2 separate regions of the Homo sapiens genome follow, and region 2 is linked to region 1. Evidence: promoter capture Hi-C in 16 types of primary human blood cells and fetal thymus (Javierre and others, 2016). All regions are on one chromosome and are shown on one strand. The core of a region is centred on a gene start or on the middle of the fragment in contact, and the rest is flanking DNA. Distances in the headings are between cores, read along the strand shown. Region 1 holds the start of FLNB-AS1 (FLNB antisense RNA 1). Region 2 overlaps ABHD6 (abhydrolase domain containing 6, acylglycerol lipase).

Region 1 (3,989 bases), core at 492-2,991:
TAACAGGAAAGAATACATATTGAAATCTTACGTATTTGTTTAGATCAGGGTCTGAAAAATCCCCTGATTTCTAATTTTCACTTGAAAAATAATCAAAAAGTTTTCCTATACTTATAAAAATGTGTCTCCTCCAAAACACTGGAAAAAATACCAAACTATGAAAACCACTTCACAGCCACCACCCAAGGTAACCACCATAAACACTGTAGTAAATCCCTTCCACACGTCATGATTCACTGTTACATAAAGAATGTAGGTTCATCGCAGGAAAATTAGAAAATTCAGATAGAAAAATCATCCTTTCTCATCCACAGAATCATTTTTTGATATTTCATTATATGTCATCCCAAACTTTTACACTGCTTATACATAGACTATTTTATGTCAATAGAAAGATGTGAATTCCACAGGCACATCTTTGGTGGGTAGGGGGTGGGGGGATTGGGAGGGTCCTTGGCCTTGTCAGCCAAGGCCAGACTCATCCATTTGCCCAGAAAGCCAGATCCTAGTTGTATGGGGGTGGGATCCTAGGGGTTTAGAAGACATTATGGGTGTGAGATACAGGTGTGGTGGCTTTTGTGTTGGGGTGCGCGGGCTCTCCTGGGGTTACTGTGTAGGGTACTCGCCTGTCCTCTGGCTGAGAGACCCCTCTTGATCTGGCCATTCATGCCTGTCCCCCTCCCTCCTGTATCTTAGGCCAGCGTCTAGTTAGCCCTGGCTCAGCCAACGAGACCTCATCCATCCTGGTGGAGTCAGTGACCAGGTCGTCTACAGAGACCTGCTATAGCGCCATTCCCAAGGCATCCTCGGACGCCAGCAAGGTGACCTCTAAGGGGGCAGGGCTCTCAAAGGCCTTTGTGGGCCAGAAGAGTTCCTTCCTGGTGGACTGCAGCAAAGCTGGTAGGTGTCTGGGCCTTTTCAAGGGTGGGGTGGGGCAGGGGCAGGCTGGGCACCCTGGGTACACTGGCCTTCCCTGCTGAGGTCTCCTGCAGTGCCCACCCCCATGTAGGCCAGCCGTTTGCAAGTAACCATCGTCATGACCCTGTTCTCCTGCACTTAATATTTTTAAATGATTTCCTTCTCTTTTGCCTTTTGAACTTGGGTATTTATTTGGGTTTCAAGGGTCGGTTGCCTGGGTTCTGGCATCCAGTACACCTGGGCTGGAAACCTAGTACCGCCACTTCATTCATTCATTCGTTTGTTCTAAAACTTATTTAGCCATGTGACCTTGGAAAGTTATTAAATCTCTTTCCAAAAGTCAGTTTCCTCTTCTCGGAAGTACCTTCCTTAAGGTGCTTGTGAGAGTAAACAAGAAGATTCTCATAGCCAACACTTAGAATAGCCCTTACTGTGTGCTAGGTTTTGACACCCATAACTCTTAAACCTCACAACTAGTTCGTGAGGTATGTGCTGTTCTCATTCCCTGTTTACAGATGGGGAAGCTGAGCTAGGGAGAGGTGAGATTCCAGTCCAAGGTCACCCAGGTAGCAAGTGGCAGGGCAGGGATTCGAACCCACACCGTCAGGCTCTATGAGCCTCTGCTTGTAATTGCCACGCTCTCCCACCTCTTAGGGGCCCCAGCATTATCGTGGAAGCACCTTACCTTTGGCTCTCATATTTCCTCTTCTTCCTGTGCCTGTCCTGATGCATCCGGGTGGAGTAACCACCTTTTGCCTCCTAGGCTCCAACATGCTGCTGATCGGGGTCCATGGGCCCACCACCCCCTGCGAGGAGGTCTCCATGAAGCATGTAGGCAACCAGCAATACAACGTCACATACGTCGTCAAGGAGAGGGGCGATTATGTGCTGGCTGTGAAGTGGGGGGAGGAACACATCCCTGGCAGCCCTTTTCATGTCACAGTGCCTTAAAACAGTTTTCTCAAATCCTGGAGAGAGTTCTTGTGGTTGCTTTTGTTGCTTGTTTGTAATTCATTTTATACAAAGCCCTCCAGCCTGTTTGTGGGGCTGAAACCCCATCCCTAAAATATTGCTGTTGTAAAATGCCTTCAGAAATAAGTCCTAGACTGGACTCTTGAGGGACATATTGGAGAATCTTAAGAAATGCAAGCTTGTTCAGGGGGCTGAGAAGATCCTGAGTACACTAGGTGCAAACCAGAACTCTTGGTGGAACAGACCAGCCACTGCAGCAGACAGACCAGGAACACAATGAGACTGACATTTCAAAAAAACAAAACTGGCTAGCCTGAGCTGCTGGTTCACTCTTCAGCATTTATGAAACAAGGCTAGGGGAAGATGGGCAGAGAAAAAGGGGACACCTAGTTTGGTTGTCATTTGGCAAAGGAGATGACTTAAAATCCGCTTAATCTCTTCCAGTGTCCGTGTTAATGTATTTGGCTATTAGATCACTAGCACTGCTTTACCGCTCCTCATCGCCAACACCCCCATGCTCTGTGGCCTTCTTACACTTCTCAGAGGGCAGAGTGGCAGCCGGGCACCCTACAGAAACTCAGAGGGCAGAGTGGCAGCCAGGCCCACATGTCTCTCAAGTACCTGTCCCCTCGCTCTGGTGATTATTTCTTGCAGAATCACCACACGAGACCATCCCGGCAGTCATGGTTTTGCTTTAGTTTTCCAAGTCCGTTTCAGTCCCTTCCTTGGTCTGAAGAAATTCTGCAGTGGCGAGCAGTTTCCCACTTGCCAAAGATCCCTTTTAACCAACACTAGCCCTTGTTTTTAACACACGCTCCAGCCCTTCATCAGCCTGGGCAGTCTTACCAAAATGTTTAAAGTGATCTCAGAGGGGCCCATGGATTAACGCCCTCATCCCAAGGTCCGTCCCATGACATAACACTCCACACCCGCCCCAGCCAACTTCATGGGTCACTTTTTCTGGAAAATAATGATCTGTACAGACAGGACAGAATGAAACTCCTGCGGGTCTTTGGCCTGAAAGTTGGGAATGGTTGGGGGAGAGAAGGGCAGCAGCTTATTGGTGGTCTTTTCACCATTGGCAGAAACAGTGAGAGCTGTGTGGTGCAGAAATCCAGAAATGAGGTGTAGGGAATTTTGCCTGCCTTCCTGCAGACCTGAGCTGGCTTTGGAATGAGGTTAAAGTGTCAGGGACGTTGCCTGAGCCCAAATGTGTAGTGTGGTCTGGGCAGGCAGACCTTTAGGTTTTGCTGCTTAGTCCTGAGGAAGTGGCCACTCTTGTGGCAGGTGTAGTATCTGGGGCGAGTGTTGGGGGTAAAAGCCCACCCTACAGAAAGTGGAACAGCCCGGAGCCTGATGTGAAAGGACCACGGGTGTTGTAAGCTGGGACACGGAAGCCAAACTGGAATCAAACGCCGACTGTAAATTGTATCTTATAACTTATTAAATAAAACATTTGCTCCGTAAAGTTGCCTTGGTGTTCTTGGATGATGTCGCTTCTGAATAAATTGTTTAATCCTAGGAGTTCAACACCCTCAGCCTGGGTAACAGCAAGACCCAGCCTCTACAAAAAATTAAAAAATTAGCCAGCATGGTGATGCATGCCTGCAGTCCCAGCTACTCAGGAGGCGGAGGCAGGAGGATTGCTTGAGCCTGAGAGGCCAAGGTTGCAGTGAGCTGTGTTTGCAACCCTGCACTCTAGCCTGGGCAACAGAGCAAGACAGTGTAACACACACACACACACACACACACACACACACACACACACAGGCACATCGTTGGAGCCCCAGATCAGCTCTCCCAACCCCTTAAGGGACACAAAACTAGCAACTTGTTTTGACAATGAACCTGGGCTCCTTTTGTGGGGGTGGGGTGGGGCTGGTAAACAAGCTGTCACCTGTCACCCTGCTGTGCTTATTGTTGCTGCTGCCTCTGTTTCTCTTTTTTTTTTTTTTTTAATTTTCCTTTTTTGAGACAGAGTCTCACTCTGTTGCCCAGGCTGGAGTGCAGTGGCAGGATCTCTGCTCACTGCAGCCTCCGCCTCCCAGGTTCAAGTGATTCTTCTGCCTCAGCTTCCCAAGTAGCTGGGACTACAGGCG
Region 2 (3,989 bases), core at 956-3,455, 120 kb after region 1:
ATTTAGGTCTGCAGGATGGATAGATGGCTGAATGGTTGGATGGATGGATGGATGGGAGGATATCTGGTTAATGCAGAGATGGAGGTTGGATGGATTGATGAATACAGGATAGATAGGTAGACAAATGCATATGTGGTTCAGGATGGATGGCTGCATTGAGCAGAGGTGGAGGATGGATGGACACAAGATGAATAGATATGTGGGTACAGGTGGATAGCTGAACAAAGAAAATCTCTGATGCTGAGCACAATGTTGTTATTCAACAAATTGTCATTGTCCTCATGTCCAGGCTGAATGAGTTAGAGTCTAGTGATGCTCCAGAGGGTTGGTTTAGTCCATAGCAGCCATGGCTGGTTCTTCCCCACTTTCAGTCAGTGCACAGGACTCCTGAGAGAGTGTAATTAAAGGGTTCAGACCTGTTTGCAGGTAGAGGAGAGGAGTAGAGGAGTACAGCCACTAATGTGAACCCTGTACTCTACCTCAGGAGTCCTGAGGCAGGAGGAAGAGAAGAACTGTGTTCCTTCCAGCCACCACTACCTCTTTGGGTCAGTAGCCCAGGTCCAGAAGATGTGGCCTGTCCACATTGGCTGCAGCCCTCACCAGCCCTCAGCAGGGAAGGCAAAGACAGTGTCAAATGATAAACAAAGGGCTGTTGAACCCTCCCAGTGGGACTGTGGAACCCTCCCCAGAATCTTTTCAATAGTTTATTTCTTTGTTGTTTAATAGACCTATCATCCCCCAGTGGCTTAATTTTTTTAATGGAACTTGTTCTGCGTTTGGATATTACTGGCGAATTACTTGATATTATGGTCATCCTCATTATGTCTTTTTTTTTTTTTTGAGATAGAGTCTCACTGTCGCCCAGGTTGGAGTGCAGTGGCGCAATCTCAGCTCACTGCAACCTCCGCCTCCTGGGTTCAAGTGATTCTCCTGCCTCAGCCTCCCGAGTAGATGGGATTACAGGCCTGCACCATCACATCCTGCTAGTTTTTGTCTTTTTAGTAGAGATGGGGGTTTCACCATTTGGCCAGGCTGGTCTTGAACTCCTGGCCTCAAGTGATCTGCCCGCCTTGGCCTCCTGAAGTGCTGGGATTACAGGCATGAGCCACCATGCCCGGCCCATCCTGATTATGTCTTAAGTGAAGCAGAGAATCTCTCAAGCTAAAGTTGCTGTCAGGCCATCTCAGGTGTATTTAACATGCTGTAGGGCACCTCCAGTTTCACGATATTACCCAAGTTCCTTTATAATAATAATAATAATAAAAAGCTTCTTAGAAGCCTAACTCCCCATTAGACTGTGTGCTGCATCATGGGAATTCAGAGGACCAGGCTCTAAAGACCTTGACAGTGCAATAAATTGCTGGACCTCATTCCCATTCATTGTCCCAGAGCTGTGAGAGGCCTGAGGAAATGAATCTTCTCTTGCTCTCTAACTTTGGGTTATTTATCCTTAGATCCTGCAAGGCCTTGTCGATGTCCGCATCCCTCATAACAACTTCTACCGAAAGTGTAAGTAGCCCTACTTTCAGCTTGGAGCTTGTTACAAGTGAAGCTCTGTGGATGGATGGCTTTTATTTCTTAAATCTCTGACACTTTGAATGTCTCTTTGGGCCCCTGAAGAGAGGAAGTGGTGGCCTGGATCTGGTGACTATCCCTTGATTCTGCGGTGGTGCCACAGGCACAGTCCAGCACATACTCACTTTGTTTTCCTTTTCTGACAAGTGTTTTTGGAAATCGTCAGTGAGAAGTCCAGATACTCTCTCCATCAGAACATGGACAAGATCAAGGTTCCGACGCAGATCATCTGGGGGAAACAAGACCAGGTATGTAACACATCCCCGCGGCAGTCTGTGCTGGTCACCAGGGCCTCTGAGGAAAAACGTCCTTGAGGAAGAACAAGTGGTTATTTATGGAGTGAGCTGATCGCTGCTGTCAGGAAGAGGGGGAAGGCACCTGTGTTGGGTGCCAGTGTTGACAGTGGGCAGAGTTCTGGGAGTGGAGAGAAACAACATTTGGTCTGGTAAAAGGAAAGACAATTTTAAATCATTTTCAAAAATTGTTTTTATCAAAGCCATGTAGTCACATGGTATAAAAAGATCTTCAAAGAACACCAAAAGGTTTATAATGAAAACTTTTCTTTTTCGCATCCCAAATTCCATTCTCCATTACCATGAGGCAACTCTTATCTTACTATCTTGAATATATTTCTTTTCTTTTTTTCGTTTGAGACGGAGTCTTGCTCTGTCACCCAGGCTGGAGTGCAGTGGCCCAATCTTGGCTCACTGCAACTTCTGCCTCCCAGGTTCAAGCGATTCTCCTGCCTCAGCCTCCCAAGTAGCTGGGATTACAGGTGCCCTCCACCATGCTCACCTAATTTTTGTTTTTTGTTCTTTTGTTTTTTTTTTTTTAGACGAAGTCTTGCTCTGTTACCCAGGCTGGAGTGCAGTGGCACAATCTCGGCTCACTGCAAGCTCTGCCTCCTGGGTTCACGCCATTCTCCTGCCTCAGCCTCTCAAGTAGCTGGGACTACAGGCACCCGCCACCATGCCCAGCTAATTTTTTGTATTTTTAGTAGAGACGGGGTTTCACCATGTTAGCCAGGATGGTCTCGATCTCCTGACGTCATGATCTGCCGGCCTCAGCCTCCCAAAGTGTTGGGATTACAGGCGTGAGCCACCACACCTGGCAATTTTTGTATTTTTTTTAGTAGAGACGGGGTTTCACCATTTTGGCCAGGCTGGTCTTGAGCTCCTGACTTCAAGCAGTCCACCTTCCTTAGCCTCCCAAAGTGCTGGGATTACAAGCATGAGCCAACATGCTTGGCCTAAATTTTTTAAGCCAGAAGTTAGCAAATGTTTTCTGTAAAGGGCCAGATGGTAAACATTTTCAGCCTTGTGGTCCAGTCTCTGTCACACCTGGACACAGTTGAGTAACTGTGACCTTATAGTATAAAAGCAGCCATAGGCAATATGTAAACAAATGGCATGGCTTTTTCCAGTGAACCTTTATTTATAAAAACGGGCAGTGAGCCATTGTTTGCCTACTCCTATTCTAAGCACACGTATAGTGTATATATATGCATACCTATACATATCTGAGCTTTCAAACATGCTAGATACACTGGCATCTAAGATGCATGTTTGAAAGCTTAGATATATATAGGTGTGCATATAAGATATATAAGATCATATATGTGTGTGTGTGTGTGTGTGTGTGTGTGTGTATATATATATATATATGTATATGTATATATAAGTAGGTATCTTGGAAATCATTTTATATCAGCCCAAACAAATCTATTCCTTCTATTCTTAAAAAAATTTTATCTTGAAATAATTTCAAACTTACAGAAAATTTGAAAGAAGGCCAGGCATGGTGGCTTACGCCTATAATGCCAGCACTTTGGGAGGCTAAGGCAGGAGGATTGCTTGAGCCCAGGAGTTTGAGACCAACCTGGGCAGCATAGTGAGATCCCATCTCTATAAAAAATAAATTTTTAAAAAAGTAGCCAAGCATGGTGGTATGCATCTGTAGTCCCAGCTACTCTGGAGGGTGAGGCAGGAGGATCACTTGAGTCCAGGACATGGAGGTGGCAGTGAGCCGTGATTGCTTCACTGCACACCAGCCTGGGCCACAGGGCGGGATCCTATCTCAAAAAAATAAAAATAAAAAAGAATACAGAGTATACCTGCATACCCTTTACCTAAATGCATCAATTTTTAACTGGCAGGAGGTCACACTGTGGCCACAAAGACCCACAAGTGCATGAATGACCCAGGCAGGAGAGAGTGGGGAGGAGCAGCCAGGCTGTGCCCATGGCGTGTACGCAGAATAAGAGGCAATGGTGTCTTAGATGAGCCAGGCATGGTGAGGATTCACAGCATGGTTTTGTGGACGTGGAGAGAAGGGGATCTCATGTGCTCTCTTCTGCAGCGCCAAGGGACTGAAAGAAGCTTTGTTTGTGCCCTGGGCTATGCCAGCAGAGAGTC

The links. Contacts are between HindIII fragments. The CHiCAGO score rates a contact against its expected background, and 5 or more counts as called.
Region 2: a fragment that was not itself captured here is called in contact with the fragment with the promoter of FLNB-AS1 in region 1 in 1 of 17 cell types (endothelial precursors); the score reaches 5.8 in endothelial precursors.

What each region holds. Positions count from the first base shown.
Region 1 is chr3:58,168,894-58,172,882 of GRCh38, forward strand. It overlaps FLNB-AS1 (FLNB antisense RNA 1), which reads right to left and starts at 1,742. Exons shown (of 2, transcript NR_135534.1): 1 at 1,604-1,742. FLNB (filamin B) reads left to right here. Exons shown (of 46, transcript NM_001457.4): 45 at 697-900; 46 at 1,682-3,358. The coding sequence ends at 1,869. It overlaps LOC124909485, which reads left to right and starts at 2,884. Exons shown (of 6, transcript XM_047449435.1): 1 at 2,884-2,980; 2 at 3,178-3,268. The coding sequence starts at 2,884. The HindIII fragment of the contact is 5,353 bases long and covers 1-2,066 here.
Region 2 is chr3:58,283,631-58,287,619 of GRCh38, forward strand. ABHD6 (abhydrolase domain containing 6, acylglycerol lipase) reads left to right here. Exons shown (of 10, transcript NM_001320126.2): 8 at 1,455-1,509; 9 at 1,723-1,823. Among named protein-coding and RNA genes, the nearest start is that of RPP14, 21 kb to the right of the region's middle. The HindIII fragment of the contact is 1,880 bases long and covers 1,266-3,145 here.